2 separate regions of the Homo sapiens genome follow, and region 2 is linked to region 1. Evidence: promoter capture Hi-C in human tissues and cell types (Jung and others, 2019). All regions are on one chromosome and are shown on one strand. The core of a region is centred on a gene start or on the middle of the fragment in contact, and the rest is flanking DNA. Distances in the headings are between cores, read along the strand shown. Region 1 holds the start of DENR (density regulated re-initiation and release factor). Region 2 overlaps CLIP1 (CAP-Gly domain containing linker protein 1).

What was found. The method cuts DNA at HindIII sites, captures the fragments that hold promoters and counts their contacts. A contact is called where the count stands out against the background at its distance.
Region 2: a fragment that was not itself captured here is called in contact with the fragment with the promoter of DENR in region 1 in 1 of the 25 tissues and cell types used here (psoas muscle).

The regions. Positions count from the first base shown.
Region 1 is chr12:122,751,339-122,754,214 of GRCh38, forward strand. It overlaps DENR (density regulated re-initiation and release factor), which reads left to right and starts at 1,486. Exons shown (of 8, transcript NM_003677.5): 1 at 1,486-1,612; 2 at 2,355-2,469. The coding sequence starts at 2,364. RefSeq lists enhancers at 1-843, 1,935-1,994 and a silencer at 1,745-1,794. The HindIII fragment of the contact is 19,306 bases long and covers 1-2,876 here.
Region 2 is chr12:122,338,683-122,341,558 of GRCh38, forward strand. It overlaps CLIP1 (CAP-Gly domain containing linker protein 1), which reads right to left. Exons shown (of 26, transcript NM_001247997.2): 11 at 2,071-2,876. Among named protein-coding and RNA genes, the nearest start is that of CLIP1-AS1, 55 kb to the right of the region's middle. The HindIII fragment of the contact is 3,429 bases long and covers 1-2,876 here.

The DNA.
Region 1 (2,876 bases), core at 236-2,735:
CAGATGCCTTCCTCTTATCTCAACTGCACAGAGGTGTTCCTTCCTCTTTTACTAATCCTCCTGAGCACAGACCCTTTACAGGTGTCGGGCTGTGGAATGGTCAGGTCTTTCCCTTCCCACGAGGCCATATTTCAGACTATCACATGAGGAGAAACCTTGGACAATACCTGGCTTTCCTAGGAAGAGGTCCCTGCGGCCTTCTGCAGTGTATTGTGTCTCTGGGTACTTGAGATTAGGGAGTGGTGATGATTCTTAAGGCGCATGCTGCCTTCAAGCATTTGTTTAACAAAGCACATCCTGCACAGCCCTTAATCCATTTAACCCTCAGTTGACACAGCACAGGTCTCAGGAAGCACAGGGTTGGTGGTAGGGTTACAGATTAACAGCATCTCAAGGCAGAAGAATTTTTCTTAGCACAGAACAAAATGGAGTCTCTTATGTCTACTTCTTTCTACACAGACACAGTAACAATCTGATCTTTCTTTTCCCCATATATTCCCATACTCTTACATTTTTCTTTTTTTCATTAAAAAAAATTGTAGGCCGGGCGCGGTGGCTCACGCCTGTAATCCCAGCACTTTGGGAGGCGGAGGCGGGAGGATCCCTTGAGTCCGGGAGTTCGAGACCAGCCTGGACAGCATAGGGAGATTCCCCCACCTCTATAAACAAATTAAAAATTAGCTGGGTGTGGTAACGCGCGCCTGTATTCCCAACTACTTGGGAGGTCGAGGCTGCAGTGAACCGTGTTTGTGCAACTGCACTCCATCCAGCCTAGGTGACAGAGTGAGACCCTGTCAAAACATAAAGAAAAGGATGAAGGAAGGGAGGGAGGAAGGAAGGAAGGGAGGGAGGAAGGAAGGAAAGAAGGAAGGAAGGGAGGGAGGGAGGGAAGGGGAAGAAAGAGACAGAAAGAAGAGAAAGAAGAAAGAAAAGAAAGAACAGAAAAGAAAGAAAAAAGAATTCCTTTAATTTAGTGTATGGTGTTAAAACGCAACCAAACGCTCCATCCGGCGAAGAGAGAGAGAAAAGAAGAGAGGAAGGAAAGAAGGAAGGGAGGGAGGGAGGGAGGGAGAACACCTTCCTTTAATTCAGTGCATGGTGTTAAAATGCGACCAAACGCTCTATCCGGCTGCAATCTCCCCGCACGGGAGTGATTTATGCAGTAGCTGGAGGTTAGTCAGGACTCCAGGATGCACCGCAGACACCGAGGCGATGATCCTCGGACTCATTAATAGGGAGTCATTTGTGACTCAGGTGCGCTCTCTGCGTCTGCAAGTCACGTTCCCTTCGGCACGCCCATCTCGAGGATTCATCCTCTCCAACGGGTGACGAGCACCGCCTGCCGGCGGCCCGCCTCTCGGCCTCTTGGCCACGCCCCCCACCGGAGGGCAAGGCGCACGCTCCGCAATTTTTCTCCGCCCCCGTCTTCCGGCTTCTCGCGACATCCGCCCAGCGGCGGCCGGAATCTCGCGATAAAGGCTCATTGTCTCGCGGGAGCGCTGCTGGCGGTCGGGCGCTCGGGCGGCCCTGGCCGGGGAGACGAGTTGCATGTGTTGGTTCAGCTGGCGATAGCGGCGGGAGCGGAGCCGGCGGGGCCTGTGCGACCGCCTGGGTAACGACCCCAAGTGCTTCTCCCGCTCCCGAGAAGCTCGTAGAGAGTGTGGGGGAAGCTGAGATGCTGCCTGGCGGAAGGGGGCCGGGCCGGGCCTCTCCACACCCCCGCCCACAAGGGCCCCTTCTGGCGTCCCCGGGGTTGCTCCTTCGCCTCAGACCTGGTCGCCCTTGTCCCCTCAGTGCTCTTACATTCTGCGCTCGTTTTCTCTCCTCATCCTTCTTACGCTCTGGTTACCCCGCCCCCTCCCATGCCCTTTTTAGACTCCCCAGGCCCCTCTCATGGCGTTTAGTTGCCCCCACACCCTGCACCCCGGGCTTCTCCGATGACCCACCCCTTGTTCCTAGGCACTTCCAGCCTCTCTCCATTCGGCGCCTTTGTAGCCCTTCTCTCACTGCAGTTTGCATCCCTCCCAGATCACCCTCAGACCTTTTTGCTCCGTGTCTGCCGTGGGTACTCACCCCATCTTTCCTTCCCCATTGCTTCCTGTTTTTCTCTAGTGAGTCCCTCTGCCCCATCCTTCATGGTCCATTTGCTGCTTGCTTCCCTGTAGACCTGTGGAGCAAGGAGATGTTGTGCCTGGGATTGCTCATATTTTATGAATCGAATGCAGCTTGTATCCCCCACTCAACAACAGACTTGAAACAGCTTTGGGGTGGGGAGGTTTCTGTTGAGAGGAACACTGCTCTTCTGGGGTCTTGATTCTAAAATAGTGAGGGTGTGTTATTTTCCTTGCTTACAGGTTTGTGAAATGGCTGCTGACATTTCTGAATCCAGCGGGGCTGACTGCAAAGGAGACCCAAGGAACAGTGCCAAGTTAGATGCCGATTACCCACTTCGAGTCCTTTATTGTGGAGGCAAGTGTTGGTAGCCACAGAATGACTTTTACTCACTATACTTTTATGCATTGTAATAACAGTTTGACATTTGGTAAGCTTTCTTCCCCATCCTTTTCATTTGGTGAGTTTGTACTGGGGGAGAGGAGTCCTGGGGAGGAGGAGGCATGAATTAACAGAGTTTCCCCACCTGGGTGATTTGTGTCTGGCTACTCTGCCTGAAGAAGCTTACAGTCCATTTGTAACAGGATGTGCAACTAGGTTATTTCAGCCTGAAGGTCCTCAAGGTGTATGCTAGTCTAGCTGTCAAAGGAGGGCTTCTTGGAAGATTATGAGTTAAGGATGGCAAGGACTGGATGAGAAGGTGGGGAACGGCGTCCCAGACAAAGCGCACGACTATGTAAGAAAAAGCTTGATGGCTGTCTGTG
Region 2 (2,876 bases), core at 173-2,672, 410 kb before region 1:
CTCCAGCCTGCGCAACAGAGTGAGACTGTCTCAAAAAAACAGAACAAAACAAAACAAAAAAATCCACTGGACAATAGTCATTAGAACTTGGCTTTCATGAAATCTTGATGTTAAAAAGTAAACTAGCATTAGCTAAATATTATCTTCTAATTAATTTTTGTGTTTTGATTAGTATTTCGGAACCACATGAGGAGATTTGAGAAAAATTTCCTGTAACCAGTTTGTCATCTTCGACTATGGTTAGTTAGCAATTTTTTGCTGTTTGTCAGTCCTCACCTCACCCCATTTAACCATCACAACCCTTCCTTCTTTGCCAATAGAGCAGCTTCTCCCACAAAAAAGTTCAGAACATTGAGCATCAATACCAGTGCCTCAACTAGTGGCAGGACTGGGAAACAATTCCTCGAACCACCTTTAAAGATAAAGATGACATTTAACAAGGCTAGTTAGTAAGGAATGCAGCTGGCGAATGTTTCACGTAATTTCCTAAGCCTTGACCACATGCACACTTGTTCAGTATTTCCCCCAGAAAAGGAGGGGACAGATCATGTTCTCATTATGCCACAGAAAAAAACTCCAATGAGATTTCTGCCATGCAAAGGGCTCCAAGCTCTTACCCTTAATTTTGCTGTGAATGTTATTTATCACAGCATGGGTTTTTTTTTGTTTTTTGGAGATGGAGTCTTGCTCTGTCGCCCAGGATGGGGTACAGTGGCACGATCTCAGCTCACTGCCACCTCCACCTCCCGGGTTCAAGCAATTCTTGTGCCTCAGCCTCCTGAGTAGCTGGGACTACAGACGCACACCACCACACCTGGCTAATTTTTGTATTTTTAGTAGACAGGGGCCAGGCTGGACTCAAACTCCTGACCTCAACTGATCCGCCTGCCTCAGCCTCCCAAAGCACTGGGATTACAGGCATGAGCCACCTTGCCCGGCCAACATGTTAATTTATAATAGTCAAGAAGCACTGAATTCAGTCTGTTTTTATACATAACCCTATAGATAAGCAATTACAGTCATGCATTGCTTAAGAACCAGGATATCTTATGAGAAATGCATCATTAGGCATTTCATTGTTGTGGGGACATCACAGGGTGCACTTACACACACCTAGAAGGTATAGTCTACTACACACCTGGGCTACGTGGCACAGCCTATTGTTCCTATACTATAAACCTGTATAAAATGTTACTGTACTGAATGTTGTAGGCAACTGTAACACAATGCTAAGTATTTGTGTATCAAAGCATATTTAAACATACAAAAGGTAAAGATACCATATTACAATCTTATGGAACCGCCTTTGTTTATGTGGTCCATTGTTGATTGAAACATCATTATGTGGCACCTGACTATATGTGGTTAGAAGAGGAGGAGATGATCTTTTAAGCTTTTTTTTTTTTTTTCCTTTAGACAGAGTCTTGCTCTGTCTCCCAGGCTGGAGTGCAGTGGAATAATCTCAGGTCACTGCAACCTCCGCCTCCCGGGTTGTTCAAGTGATTCTCCTGCCTCAGCCTCCTGGGTAGCTGGGATTACAGGTGTCCGCCACCATGCCAGGCTAATTTTGTATTTTTAGTAGAGATGGGGTTTCACTATGTTGGCCAGGCTGATCTCGAACTCCTGACCTCAGGTGATCACCTGCCTCAGCCTCCCAAAGTGCTGGGATTACAGGCGTGAGCCACTGCGCCTGGCCGATCTTTTGAGTTTCTGTTCATTCATTCATCTTAACACCATAGTGTTAGGGCATTCTTTATTTTAAACAGATTATAGACTGGAGCTAAGCTTAAATTAGAAGTCACAGCATAGCCCAGAGATAAATAGATCAGGTACCCAGATAACAGGCAACCAAAATAAATTCACATGGTTGAGCCATTATTTTCTCTAATCTCCTCAGATGAAACCATACTTGAGATACTCAGAACATACTACACTATACTCAACTGGGGACATCAAGCAATTTAATTAAATCAGCAATTTGGAAGATGAATGATCTCAACTCAAAAGTAACATAATGCAAAACAAGAATAACAAATGGAAAAGAAAAGAATGGAGGATGTCAATACAAACCTTGCTACTTTCAGCATTCTTTTCAATCTCTAAATGTTTAATCTGTTTCTCAGCTGCCTCAAGCTGCTGTCTAAGTTTCTTCATTTCCGATTTACCTTCGGAACTGGCTTTCCGAAGTGCATCAAGATCCAAGAGCTTTTCTTCAGTAGCCTTGAGCTGTGATGTAAAATTATCAATAACCTTGGTTTGTTCATTGCATTTGGCTTGCAGTACCTCTAGCTCCTTTACCTTTATTTCAGCTTCCTGTAATTTGTTTAACGTGTCTTCCATTTCTACGAGATGCTGGTCTTCTGCTTTGTCCAGTTTCGACCTGATGGCTTCCAGACTGTTTTCCTTTTCTTTAATAACTTTCATCAGTTTAGCCCTCAAGGCTTCCATCTCTTTAGCATGGGCAGCCCGTTCAGAGTCTTGTTGATTCTGCAAATTTTCTATTTCGTGTTGGTAATCTAGTCTCATTTTCTCTATTTGTGTTTTTAGTTCAGCAAATTCTGCCGTCTCTGTTCCAAGCCCTTTGCTGAAAGATACCTTCAGTTCTTCCATCGCCTGCTGGTGGGATGCGATGGCAGTCTCCAGTTTGGACTTCCATAGAGCTATCACATCTGAGTTCTCTTTGTTGGCATGCTCCAGCTTGCTTTTCAATGACTCGTTCTCTTTGGAAAGCTTTTCCGTGGCGGTATACAGAGCCTTTATCTCCTTCTGATGAGTTTCTTCCCGGGCTCCAAAATGCTCCTTCAGAGAAGTTATTTCTCTCTGGTGGTCAGTACGGGTGACTTCTAACTTTTCTTGCAAAGAGCTTATCTCTTGCA